Linked DNA regions of Homo sapiens: all the other regions are linked to region 2. Evidence: promoter capture Hi-C in 16 types of primary human blood cells and fetal thymus (Javierre and others, 2016). All regions are on one chromosome and are shown on one strand. The core of a region is centred on a gene start or on the middle of the fragment in contact, and the rest is flanking DNA. Distances in the headings are between cores, read along the strand shown. Region 1 holds the start of SDC4 (syndecan 4). Region 2 holds the start of UBE2C (ubiquitin conjugating enzyme E2 C). Region 3 has its middle 13 kb from the start of MATN4.

The links. Contacts are between HindIII fragments. The CHiCAGO score rates a contact against its expected background, and 5 or more counts as called.
Region 1: a contact is called between the fragment with the promoter of SDC4 here and the fragment with the promoter of UBE2C in region 2, in 10 of 17 cell types (erythroblasts, M2 macrophages, M0 macrophages and 7 more). The highest score is 13.7, in erythroblasts.
Region 3: a contact is called between a fragment that was not itself captured here and the fragment with the promoter of UBE2C in region 2, in 2 of 17 cell types (M0 macrophages and M1 macrophages). The highest score is 6.2, in M0 macrophages.

Annotation. Positions count from the first base shown.
Region 1 is chr20:45,346,670-45,351,033 of GRCh38, reverse strand. It overlaps SDC4 (syndecan 4), which reads left to right and starts at 2,610. Exons shown (of 5, transcript NM_002999.4): 1 at 2,610-2,709. The coding sequence starts at 2,650. The HindIII fragment of the contact is 6,082 bases long and covers 1,091-4,364 here.
Region 2 is chr20:45,811,157-45,815,740 of GRCh38, reverse strand. It overlaps UBE2C (ubiquitin conjugating enzyme E2 C), which reads right to left and starts at 3,097. Exons shown (of 6, transcript NM_007019.4): 1 at 2,945-3,097; 2 at 2,277-2,304; 3 at 1,271-1,357; 4 at 1-200. The coding sequence starts at 3,045. DNTTIP1 (deoxynucleotidyltransferase terminal interacting protein 1) reads right to left here. Exons shown (of 13, transcript NM_052951.3): 13 at 4,323-4,584. The coding sequence ends at 4,546. RefSeq lists a silencer at 3,105-3,294. The HindIII fragment of the contact is 3,801 bases long and covers 2,015-4,584 here.
Region 3 is chr20:45,319,039-45,323,225 of GRCh38, reverse strand. It overlaps the pseudogene TRV-CAC14-1. Among named protein-coding and RNA genes, the nearest start is that of MATN4, 13 kb to the right of the region's middle. RefSeq lists an enhancer at 1,896-1,945. The HindIII fragment of the contact is 5,194 bases long and covers 1-4,187 here.

The sequences.
Region 1 (4,364 bases), core at 1,361-3,860, 460 kb after region 2:
CGGAGGTTGCAGTGAGCCGAGATTGCGTCACCGCACTCCAGCCTGGGTGACAAATTGAGACTCCGTCTCAAAAAAACAAAAACAAAAACAAAACCATAAAGGAAATAAATACTCAAAACTCATCACTTACTAATTATCTCACTACACTTTACTGTTATCCATGCTTTTGAGATTATTTGCACCTATTGTATCTGTGTGGTAGAAATATATCTTCCCAGCTCCATGTTCAGTGACATCTCATTGGTAGCTTGAAATCAGCCATGCTGGTAGTATTTACACTACAGAAATTGGCAAATTAGCACTCGCCACTTCCCCTAGCCAATTGTCAAACATTTACTGGCACACCACTGGCTGTAAGTGCTGAGAAACTTATAAAAGTTGGTAGGAACAGAAGAACTCTTGTTACAACAGTGTGACAATAGATAACTAAAATCACAGTTACCTATTCTATATTTAATGATCTATCTACTGACAACTAGATTAGGCCCCCCTGCAATTTTGTGGAAAGCAAAGATTGCAAACCATTTAACTTGCAAAAGGATTTCTTATTCTGGCATGAGATTTCTTCATTTTCTCAGTTTTGTTCCAAATCCTAGGGAAGCATGTTAAAAACCACTGAAAGTCATTGCTTACCTTTAAATCTGTGGAAACCCCGTGGTCAGCATTTGAAGTTTGCTTTACTGCCAAGGTTCTCTGCCACAAGAGACTTTTATTCTTTGATAATAATTAAGAGGTGGAAAAAGGGAAGTCACTACCAATTCTCCACTCCACAAAGTATATGAATTCATAATATGCCAACAGTGGCCAAAATGTCCTACTTCTAAGGCTATGTTACACCCTTAGAAAGATTTATACATAAGTCAGGGAGAGACAGGGTTAGGCTTCTTTTGTACTTCGATCATCGTAGAATGCCCACCTTCACACCCTGCAATAATTCCAACAGTACGTGTGCTTGGGGACCCAGAGAATTTTACAGTCTCCATATAGCACCCCCCTCCACTTCTTCCCTCAACCTGCTCCCACCAATGCACTGTTAGGAGGATGAAGGGTAAGGAGGACACACAACTTTCTCTTATAAAGGGTGGAAGCTTACCCTAAGAATGGAAATAAACTTGCAGACCAGTTCTCAGAGAGATCAAACTTTTGAAAAAGTTCAAAATCTGGTAGATGAAGCCCTTAGAACAGACGTCAGCCACTCTGAGACCAGCGTCAGAGTGGTCTCAGAGTGGCTGAGGCCCACCGCCTATTTTTGTTCAGCCCACTGCTAAGAATGGTTTTTGCATTTTTATTTTTTATTTTTTTGAGACGGAGTTTTGCTCTGTTGCCCAGGCTGGAGTGCAGTGGGGAGATCTCAGTTCACTGCAACCTCCGCCCCTCGGGTTCAAACGATTCTCCTGCCTCAGCCTCCAGAGCAGTTGGGATTACAGGCGCAGGCAACCATGCCTGGATAATTTTTGTATTTTGTAGAGACGGGGTTTCAGCATGTTGGCCAGGCTGGTCTCAAACTCCTGAGCTCAAGTGATCCGCCGCCTCAGCCTCCCAAAGTGCTGGGATTACAGGCATGACTCACTGCATCCGGCCTGCATTTTTATTATAAAATGTCATTTATTTATTTATTTATTTATTTATTTATTTATTTATTTATTTTTGAGACAGGGTCTCACTCGGTCACCCAGGCTGGAGTGCAGTGAGCGATCATGGCTCACTGCAACTTTCACCTCTCTGGCTCAAGCAGTCCTCCCACCTCAGCCTCCAGAGTAGCTGGGCCACAGGGGTGCACCACAATGCCTGGTTAATTTCTTTAAAAACTTTTTGTAGAGATGGGGGTCTCATTATGGTTGCCCAGGCTGGTCTCCAATTCCTGGGCTCAAGGGATCCTCCTATTCCTCGGCCTCCCAAAGTGCTGGGATTACAGGCGTGAGCCATAGAGCCCAGCCGATTTTTGCATGTTTAAATGGTTGGGAATAAAGTCAAAAGAATAATAATATTTCGTGACACATGAAAATTATATTAAATTCAAATGTCGGTGTCTATAAATAATGTTTTATTAGGACCTAGCTGCCCTCATTCCTTTAGTATTTATGGCTGCTTTTGAGCTACGACGCTCGAGTTTGAATAGTTGCCACAGGGATCGTATGGCCCGCAAAACCTAAAATATTTAGCCCTTTACAGAATAGTTTGCTGTCCCCTGTCTTAACACGGTTCACATCCCATTTGGGAAGTTCTGTGTCTTCAGAGGGGAGCACACCCGGTATGAAGGCTGGTCTAAACTCAACACCCTAGGGAAGTCCTTCCCGTCCCTGGGCCTTAGTTTCCCCAACTATAAAATGGGGTTAGCCGCAGTGATCTCTGGGGACCTGCCTGGCAGTGGGTCAAATAAATAAAGGGAGTTGGAGCTCCCGGAGGGTAGGACTAGGGGTTGAGTAGGAGCCGGCGGGCTCGGGCAGGGCGGGTCCCTTGGGGTTTCCAACTCCGCGGGCGGGCGCAGTGCCCCGCAGGCCTCGCTTCCACTGGGGAATTCCGGGCGGGGTGCGGGCGGCGGGGCGGGGGCGGGCCGGGGCGGGGCCGGTAGGCCGCCTATAAGATGGGTGGCGCGCCCGCCCGGGGCCACTCGCCGCAGCCTGCGCGCCTTCTCCAGTCCGCGGTGCCATGGCCCCCGCCCGTCTGTTCGCGCTGCTGCTGTTCTTCGTAGGCGGAGTCGCCGAGTCGGTGGGTGCTTGGAGGTTCCCGGGCTGGGGGCGAAGCGGGGGCGCAGGCCGGTGCCTCCTTTGTTCGTCGGAGCGTGGGATGGGGGGGGGCAGATCGGGGGTACGCTACCCCCAACCGGACACCGAGGCCCGGGAAACTTTGTTGGAAACTTTGCTCCGGGGTCACGGGCCAGCCTCCGGGATGGCTTCACGCGCCGTGCGCCCCTCGCCTGTTGCTCTTCCCGCCTCCCCGGGCCTCAGCCCCGCCGCGGGCTACGGGCTCGTTAGTGACTAAGCCGGTGTCAACTCTTCAACTCCCACACCCTCGTCCCTTCCCTGGTGACCCTGGGGCAGGCTTGGAGCGCTGAATCCCCTCCTCGCTCTCGGGGCGCCCAGAGCAGACAGCTTTAGGATCCGAGATGGCCCTGGGGGTCGGGGGGCTGCGTGTACTCGGAAGGGGGAGGGTTTTAGGGTTGTGCGAGGCCCTCTTTCACACACCAAGGAGAACTGAGCCCTAACCTCAGTTCTGGCCCCAGCTCTGTCATTGACTTGTGACTTAGGGCAAAGTCCTGCCCTTCTGAATCTCTTCCCAATACTGCACCAAGGGTCTGAGGGAATGGGGCAAGAGGGGACACTGCGTTAGGGTTTCTAGAAAGTTGGGGACTCTGCTCTTTTCGAGGACAGAGGAGAGGAATGGTTTAGACTCAACACTTAGCCAGGAGCTGAGCCTCTGCTTTCTGCAAGAAGTGTGTTCATTTTTTCTCAATTGCAGATAAGAAAATTGAAGCATCCACCTTGAGTGAGGTGAAGGGGGTAGGGGGGAGAGAAGGCCTCAATCAGCCCAGGGAAACCTTTCCTTCTCACTGTCCACTGGCCTCCGTCATAGCTGTCCCTGGGCCAGCAGAAGCTCTATCCATGCCCGCAGCCGGCTTAGGAGGAGGGGGGCAATCTCATCTGGGAAGTTGGGGGGCATGGGAATTACTGGTGAAGGCAATCTGTCCCCCACAGCCTGAGCTTTGTGCCCCCTTTGTGCCCTTTAGCCCCAGTTTTCAGAGCGAGTGAGTCCTTGCAGTTTAACCATTAATGTTAATTTCTTTGAAAGCCTTGGGGCTCCTGTTCCTCTGAATTTACTTAGCGGAAGGTTGATTCTGCCTGCAGGCTCTTCTTGAGGAATGAATGAGACCCTAGGCAATACTTCCAGCACAATTCCAGGCATGCCATGATGATTGCAAACGTGGAGCGCCTTTGTCGGGGGGCCAGACATTGCTCTAATAACTTTCTAATGGGTATATCCAGGAGCTTAATTCCAACAACAATCTTACTGTGTACTGTTCTTAAACTGGTCCTGAGGCTAGAGAGGTTAAGTAACTTGCCCAGGGTCACACAGTTAATACACAATAAATGGGTGAGTCAGATTGAAATTTAGGCAGCCAGGCTTTCAAGTTTCTGCTTTAGCTTAACTTCTACTCTTTGTGCTACTCCAGGTGTCCCATCGTTGGTAACTAAAGACGGGTTTAGAATAGGTTGAGATTTTAGGCTGGAAGGCAAAGGAATTCTGAGGTGGAAGGAAACAAGGCCAGAGTGAGGTGATGACTTAACCTAAACCAAAGGCTACCTTGCCTAAAATGTTAGTGGCTGAGGACCCAAGCCTTCTGCCTCTAGCACAGTGCTCTAAAC
Region 2 (4,584 bases), core at 1,848-4,347:
AGAAGGCTCTGGATGGAGAGCAGAATGGTCCTGACATCATACAGGGCAGACCACTTTTCCTTCAGGATGTCCAGGCATATGTTACCCTGGGTGTCCACGTTGGGGTGATAGCAGGGCGTGAGGAACTTCACTGTGGGCGCATTGTAAGGGTAGCCACTGGGGAACTCTAGCGAGAGCTTATACCTCAGGTCTTCATATACCTGGCATTTGGAGAAACAGTTGCAGAGTAAGCTCCAGCAGCAGCCTCATGTCCCAACCCAAGCCCCACACAAGGGGCTTGCTAGAATCTTGAGTTTCTCTGGGACCGGACAGTAGACAAACTGTTGAGCTGGTTCTGATGCTCCCCACTGCCTTTTTAAAAAGTTTTTTTAGTTTAGTTTTTATTTTAGAGACAGGGTTTCACCATGTTGCCCAGGCCAGTCTCAAACTCCTGGGCTCATGTGATCTGCCTGCCTCAGCCTCCCAAAGTGCTGAGATTACAGGTGTGAGCCACTATGCCTAGCCTGATGCTTTCCTCTTATCTGGTGGAGACATCAGTGACTCTTTGGTCTAAGGATTGTAAATTGGCATCCTGTGCTTTAGTTCAATTAGAATATTAGTTGCTGGCCGGGCGTGGTGGCTCACGCCTGTAATCCCAGCACTTTGGGAGGCCGAGGCGGGTGGATCTTGAGGTCAGGAGATCGAGACCATCCTGGCTAACAAGGTGAAACCCCGTCTCTACTAAAAATACAAAAAATTAGCCGGGCGTGGTGGCGGGCGCCTGTAGTCCCAGCTACTCGGAGGCTGAGGCAGGAGAATGGCGTGAACCCGGGAAGCGGAGCTTGCAGTGAGCCGAGATTGCGCCACTGCAGTCCGCAGTCTGGCCTGGGCGACAGAGCGAGACTCCGTCTCAAAAAAAAAAAAAAAAGAATATTAGTTGCTAATACGTAAAAATTAGATTTGGCACAGATTTGGACTTCTGACTCATCTTAAACCTGATCTGCAGCAATGGGAAGCTGCCTTCTTGAGATCTGGCCCTATTGGCCAAAGTCCTCACTTCATCCATTTCCTTGCTGTCTGTCCCCCCATGTAAACATCTAAGATAGGCAGCCCTGCTTTAAACCCACCCTTTATTGCACAGAGGGAAAGAACAAGGCCACATGGCTCAGAGAATGTAAACAGTCACAGGAGGAGTGTCTTGCTCCGCCAAAGGCTTGAAGCAGAGCTCGCACTTGGATCTCACTTCCCACCTTTCCCCAGACTCACTCACCCATCCCAGCCCTACACTTACTGTTCCAGCTGCTCCATGGATGGTCCCTACCCATTTGAAAAGGTTGTCTGATTCAGGGAAGGCAGAAATCCCTTTATCGCCAGACATCTGGGGAGAAAACACATTTGTTGGAATGTGGAGTACACTTTTGGGCATAGCAAAGGTCAGTGGGTGAGCTTTCCCCTTAATTTTATATATATATATATATATATATATATATGCTCACATACACACACACACATATATATGTATACACACACACATATATATGTGTATATATATGAGATATAGATGGGGTTATGCCATCTCTACTAAAAAATATATATTTACATATATATATATATAGAGAGAGAGAGAGAGAGATTGAGAGAGAGAGATAGACAGAGACAGACACACACACACACTCTGTCGCCCAGGCTAGAGTGCAGTGGTGCGCTCGGCTCACCGCAACCTCTGTCTCCACGGTTCAAATGATTCTTGTGCCTCAGCCTCCCGAGTAGCTGAAATTACAGGCATGCACCACCATGCCTGGATAATTTTTGTATTTTTAGTAGAGACAGGGTTTTGCAATGTTGGCCAGGCTGGTCTCGAACTCCTGACCTCAAGTGATCCGCCCACCTTAGCCCCCCAAAGTGTTGGGATTATAAGGTGTGAGCTACCGCGCCCAGCCTCCCCTTAATCTCATCACTCTGATCCAAAATAAAGCAACCAAATTCATAGGCTAGAAATACCAAGAAGGGCGGGGAGTTGGGTGTGGGTAAAGCTTGGTTGGGGCTAGGAAGTAGGGACACACTGGATAGGGAGGGTCTTGTATGACTTCAGGGAAGTGTTCGAGATAACTTCGTGTGGGGGGATGGAATTGGGAGGAGGGACTGCTGGAAGAAATGGTGTAGGTGGGGTGTATGAACTTCTTTCCCAGGAGGGAGCAAATTACATTACCCCTATGTCTAGCAAAAAAGCTGACGGAAAAAAGGAGGCTACTGAAAATTGGATGGAAGGCTGGGGTTCTGGGCACTTAATCACTCACCATGAGGGTCATCAGCTCCTGCTGTAGCCTGAAAAAAGAGTATTCGGGGTTACCTGGGAGTCTGGATGGGCCAGGCCTCCAGACGGTGCATCTTCTCCCACCTGAATCTCAGGGGGAGCCGTCATGGAGGCTCCCCACATCACCAAGGTCAGGCTCAGCTCAGGGTATACTCACCAGATCCACAGGACGATCCTAGCGAGTCCTCACCCTCCCTAATTCCAGACTCCCTCGGGATGATTCTGGCATGTTCTTAATTCCCCAGGCTTTAGCATCTCTTCCTTGCCCGACTCAACTTCTCCCTTCCCCTGTCTCGGCCAAGTCACGAGGGTCCTTGAGCGTCTTCATCTAGGCCCACCAGGGAAGGAGTCTGGCAGCGCCCCTACCCTCCCATTCTCCTTCGGGAGAGTCTCAAAGAGCGGTCTGAGCTCCTGGCCTGTCCCCCATCTCTCGAATCTCACCCGCGCAAGGAGGTGGGAGTCCCGGAAGTCTCCGCCCTCGACACCCATGCCCAGGGGAATGCCAGGCCCCGAGCTCCTGGTGTGTTCTCCTGCACCCGCAGATCTCCCGCTCCAGGAGGTGGCGGCGGGGGGTGGTCCTAGAAATCTTTGCTCTGGGTACCAATGCCTAGGGCATGGCAGGCCCGGCGAGTGGTAGGCCGCATCACTCACCTTTTGCCCACCGGACCCCGGGCGGCGCCCCCGCTCGGCTCAGCTCCTTTACGGGCGGCGGCGACGCTAGTGGCGGCTGGGTCGCGGTTTTGGGAAGCCATCCGGGCGGCGTTGGCAGAGAGACAGGAACTCGGAGAACACGACTGCAACTGCAGGACTGCGGGCCCGCCCGCCCGCGTTTGAATTGTAACCCTCTGGGGGCGTCGACCAATCAATGGCTCGCTTGGGTTTGATCCAGCCAATGAGACGCTCCGGAGCGCTCTATTGCTGCGCCACTGCTAGACCTACCCACTGGCGCACCGCTATTGGGCGGCAGAATCCCGCTTCTGACAACCGATTGGTAGATGATGCTGCCATTAACTAACGAATCCGTAGCGAATTGGTGGCCGTTGGAAAACGCTAACCATTAAAGGGCCAAGAAAACGTCCACGTGGGATGAACCCCTCCTTCTGGCTACACGTCTTACTCCGCGTGGGAACACTCGGCACGCCCAGCCTTGATCCAATTTCCCTCGGGCAGGGAGTGCCTCCAATCCTGCAGCACTGGTACCCTCCCACCATTATAATCGCCTGGGCACCTTTGCTGCGTCCTAAGTATCTGAAAATCCCAGCGAGGGGAAAAACTAAAGGCTGATGGCCAGAGCAGCAGGCTCCCTATTAGAAAACATAGGTCCATACATCTCCGCAGAGATGACAGAAATAAAAAAAGGCAACATTGGTTCAGGCTGGTCGCAGTGGCTCACGTCCGTAATCCCGAACACTTTGGAAGGCCCAGGCAGGAGGATCACTTGAACCCAGGAGTTCGAGACCAGCCTGAGCAACAGGATAGGGAGACCTGTCTCTACTTAAAAGAAAAAAAAAAAAAAAGAAAAGAAAAAAAAAAAAGGCTGGTGAGGTGGCACGAGCCTGTAGTCCCAGCTACTGGCGAGGCTGAGGCGGGAGAATCGCTTGAGCCAGAGGCTGCACTCTAGCCTGGGCAACAGAGCAAGACTGTCTTCAAACAAACAAAAACCCCAACAACACAGGTTCATATCCTGTATATCCTACCTCCCCAGTGGGTAGTGTGTAACCTTGGGGCGGGTCCTTTAGTATCTTAACCTGTAAAATGGGAGCAATAAAAGCCAACTCTATTTTTCATATGATCTGTCATCAAACTCCATCGCATTCTGCCATGTCCTTACATTAGCTGGGTAAGGAAACTACAAATGGGCAAAGGGAAGACGGGCAGGGTACATGGTGCTCCCAGGTTGGTCTTATCAAGCCTGGCTCTATACTGTTATGGGTGAGGGTTATCTCGTCCTTTTTTCCTACACCCACTTCTAGAGCCCTTGATGTTCTGTCAATTCCCACAAGGTAGAGGGCACAGCAGGTTCACCATCTGTGTTTACTACAAACTGTTTAATTGTTTCTTATCCCAATAACTTTACAAATATAGAACCACATGCTAGTCTGGGGGTGCTGTGCAGTGAGTCACTACAAACTCGCTCAGGCACAGCTTAATGCCGCTGAGATCCATCTAGGAGCAGTCCCAGCGGTGGCCTCAGCCACGTGAGGAAGAGGGCTTTGGAGGAGGGCTGCCAAGTGTGGCCAGGGGACCCGGCCTCAGGTCTGTGGAGGTGCTTCAACAGCACGATGCTCATT
Region 3 (4,187 bases), core at 1,271-3,770, 490 kb after region 2:
GGCCTCAGTTCCTCATTGCGTGGACCCACATAGAGCTGATTGACAGTCCTCGTGATGCGGCAGCTGGTTTCTCTCAGAACAAGCGATCCAAGAGAGCCACCAAGTGGAAGCTACAGTGACTTTTATGACTTAGCTTGGAAGTCACCCACTATCTCTTCCATAATATTGCATGGGTCACATGGGTCAGCCCTATTCATTGTGACAGGAGACCACCCAGGGGCAGGAGCACCTGGATACAAGACTCATTGGAAGCCATCCTAAATGCTGGCAGACATAGCCCCATCAGTGGTCAACCTCGACTAGGGCTTTATCTGTCTGGAGAGCCAACTCTGGTTATTTCTGATAATATATAATATTTCTGAGAATTGGGCAGTGGATGCAAAATGGATTTTGGACACTATTGGTCCACTTTTTGTTTTTTAATTTTTTGAGGTGGAGTCTCACTCTGTCGCCCAGGCTGGAGTGCCATGGTATGATCTCAGCTCACTGCTATCTCTGCCTCCCAGGTTCAAGTGATTCTCCTGCCTCAGCCTCCCAAGTAGCTGAGATTACAGGCATGTGCCACAATGCCTGGCTAATTTTTGTATTTTTAGTAGAGACAGGGTTTCACCATGTTGTCCAGGCTGGTCTCAAACTCCTGATCTCATGCGATCCGCCCACCTCGGCCTCCCAAAGTGTTGGGATTACAGGCATGAGCCACCACACCCGGCCAAAATGTAGGCACAGGTTTAACTAGTTTTCTGTTTGTTTCCAACCTCGATTAAACTCACTAAATTTAGGGGGAAAATCTCGTGTTTTGGCCCGGTCTCAAACTGGTGACCTTTCATGTGTGAGGCGAATGTGATAACCACTACATTACAGAAGCCAGGCATGGGCCCACTTTTTGTTCATGATCTTGCCAATCTTCAGAGGTAGCAAAACCATGGGACAATGCCTGCATGGGGTGTGGGAAGGCCTACAAGTGAAACACATCTCCCCTACTTATGATTTGCTATGTTGTTTGGGGAGTAGACAGAATTCTAAGATGGCCTGCAAGATTTCTGCCCTATATATACAACCTGTATAATTCTCTCTCCTTGAGGACCTGTAAATATGATGGGATGCCACAAGGTTTATGATTAGTTTACATTAGATAGCAAAGGTGAAAGTGCCCATCTGGTGGCAAGCAGCCAGCTGTAGTGGGGGTTTATCACTTTGCCCTCTAAATGCATTATTGTGCCACTGCTACCCTGCCTGCCTTTGTCCCTTAGGGTCTGGAACAGGGCCAAGCCTGTCTAGGAGGCTGTTCTGAGCTGGTCTGTGGCAAAACCTTATAGATGGTTTTGTTTGTTTGTTTTTCTTTTTTTAGACAGTCTCGCTCTGTTGCCCAGGCTGGAGTGCAGTGGCACAATCTCGGCTCACTGCAACCTCTGCCTCCTAGGTGCAAGCGATTCTTGTGCCTCAGCCACCCAAGTAGCTGGGACTACAGGTGCACGCCACCACGTCTGGCTACATTTTGTATTTTTTATTTTTTGAGACAGAGTCTTGTTGTCACCCAAGCTGGAGTGCAGTGGCGTGATCTCAGCTCACTGCAACTTTCGCCTCCTGGGTTCAAGCGATTCTTCTGTCCCAGTCTCCCAAGTAGCTGGGATTACAGGTGTGAGCCACCGTGCCCAGCCTATTTTTGTATTTTTAGTAGAGACGGGGTTTTACCATGTTGGCCAGGCTGGTCTGGAACTCCTGACCTCAAGTGATCTGAAGTGATCTGCCTGGCTCGGCCTCCCAAAGTGCTAGGATTACAAGTGTGAGCCACCATGCCTGGCCACAACCTTATAGATGTATTATGGGTTTCACTTCCCTTAAAACCACTTCCTCTTTCCCTTGCCATCTTCACAGGTCTGTGCCCTACCCAGGGGGAAGCTGTCAGAGAATTTTACCTATGCTGTGGTTATAACTTAATAGAAGTTAAAAAAAAAAAAGAAAGAAAGAAAGAGAGAGAAACCCCAAGGTCGGTACTTACTGGGGAACTAGCTTGTTAATAATGGTGGAACACCAGGCAGCATGAGAGCTGGTAAATTGGAGATTTGGGCCTTATCCTCACTACATGCCCCATCCCCACCCTCTGCAACACACATGTCACCTACACACAGCAGCGTGGTAGAATGAGAATGAAGAGAAACTCAGAGCCCCAGATTTAGTGGTAGGAGTGCAGGATTTGAATCAATTGTAGGCTTTGCCATCTGCTGTGACCTTAGCCTCCTCTCTTGGAGCCTCAGTTTCCCCATCTATAAAATGAGGAGGAAATACTGACTAGGGCCATGATTCTTAACCCTGGCTGCTCACTAGATTCACATGGGAGGGTTTCAAACAATACAGATGCCTGAGCTCCACACTCAGAGATGTTAATAGAATTGTTCCATGGCGTGGCCGGTATATTATTAGTATTATTTTTTTTTTTGAGACGGAGTTTCACTCTGCTGGAGAGACCCTAGGCTGGAGTGCAGTGGCGTGATCTCAGTTCGCTGCAGCCTCTGCCTCCTGGGTTCAAGCAATTCTCCTGCCTCAGCCTCCTGAGTAGCTGGGATTACAGGCACACGCCACCACGCCTGGCTAATGTTTTGAATTTTTAGTAGAGACAGGGTTTCACCATGTTGGCCAGGCTGGTCTCAAACTCCTGACCTCAGGTGATCCACCCACCTCGACCTCCCAAAGTGCTGGGATTACAGGCGTGAGCCACTGCGCCCGGCCCGGTATATTAATTTTTATAGCGTGGCAAATGATTCTAATATAAAGAGGACTAAATTAATCCATAAATGGGTTTTAGTGTTAGGAAATTCCCTGGAAGTATGTAGAATTCTGTGCATAAACCCCCAAAGGGTCTCCCTCTGTCACCCAGGCTGGAGTGTAGTGGCACAATCACAGCTCACTGCAGCTTCCACTACCTGTGCTCCAGTGATCCTCCCTCCTCAGCATCCCCCCGCCCCCACCCCATAGCTGGGACTACAGGCGTGCACCACCACACCGGCTAATTATTATTATTATTTTTTTATTTTTTTGAGACGGAGTCTCACTCTGTCCCCCAGGCTGGAGTGCAGTGGCACGATCTCGGCTCACTGCAAGCTCCGCCTCCCGGGTTCACGCCATTCTCCTGCCTCAGCCTCCCAAGTAGCTGGGACTACAGTCGCCCGCCACCACGCCTGGCTAATTTTTTGTATTTTTTGGTAGAGACGGGGTTTCACCGGGTTAGCCAGGTTGGTCTCTTATCTCCTGACCTCGTGATCCGCCCGCCTCGGCCTCCCAAAGTGCTGGGATTACAGGCGTGAGCCACTGCGCCCGGCCCTATTTTTACATTTTTTTGTAGAGATGGGGGAGGGGGTCTTGTTATGTTGCCCAGGGTGGTCTCGAACTCCTGGGCTTAAGTGATCCTTGCGCCTCGGCCTACCAAAGGGCTGGGATTAAGGCCCGGTTTTTAAATATAAATAAAATGAGAACTTAATGCTCGGGTGGAGAACAGTGCCACCTGCCGGTTTCACTTTGCATTAGCAATATCTAAATATCTGCCAATGCCATATAATGCAATTCACTGTTTATTGAGCACCAACTCAACATGCGAGGCATTGTGATGCACCCTTTAGGACATGCAGAGATAAGAGCTCCTTTCCCCATGAAGATGGCAGCCTAGAGGAGACAATGGGCATGTAGGTAAAACCTTTGATCCAAAGCAGGCAGTCGATATGGTCCCATTGAGGGTCTGTGGGAATACAAGAAAAAAGCCTGGGGCCAGGGCTGGCTTCGTGGTTGTGCAGCCTGTGCTTGGAAGGCCCCTGCACTTGGTTTCATCATTTCCTGTGGCTGTCTTGAAGTTCTTTTTTTTTTTTTAATCCCGTGTTCAGTCGAATTGAAATTCTTGAATAATTTTTGAACAACGGGCCATTTTGCACTGGGGCCCACAAATTATATAGCTAGTTCTACCTAGAGTAGTTTGGGAAATTTTGGAAGAGGCGACACAGGACCTGGCAGGGCAGTAGTGGAGGGAGAGGAAAACAGGAGGCATATGGTAGTGTGGAAGTGGGGGTGGGATCCTTAGGCCTGGGTGACTGGGTGGTGTGGGGGAAGGAGCTAGAGGTGGTGCTGCAAGGCAGGTGGAGAGGGAAAGGAGTTTGATGTTAGATGGCTTCAGACTCAGTGCAAGGAAGACCTCCAAGGAC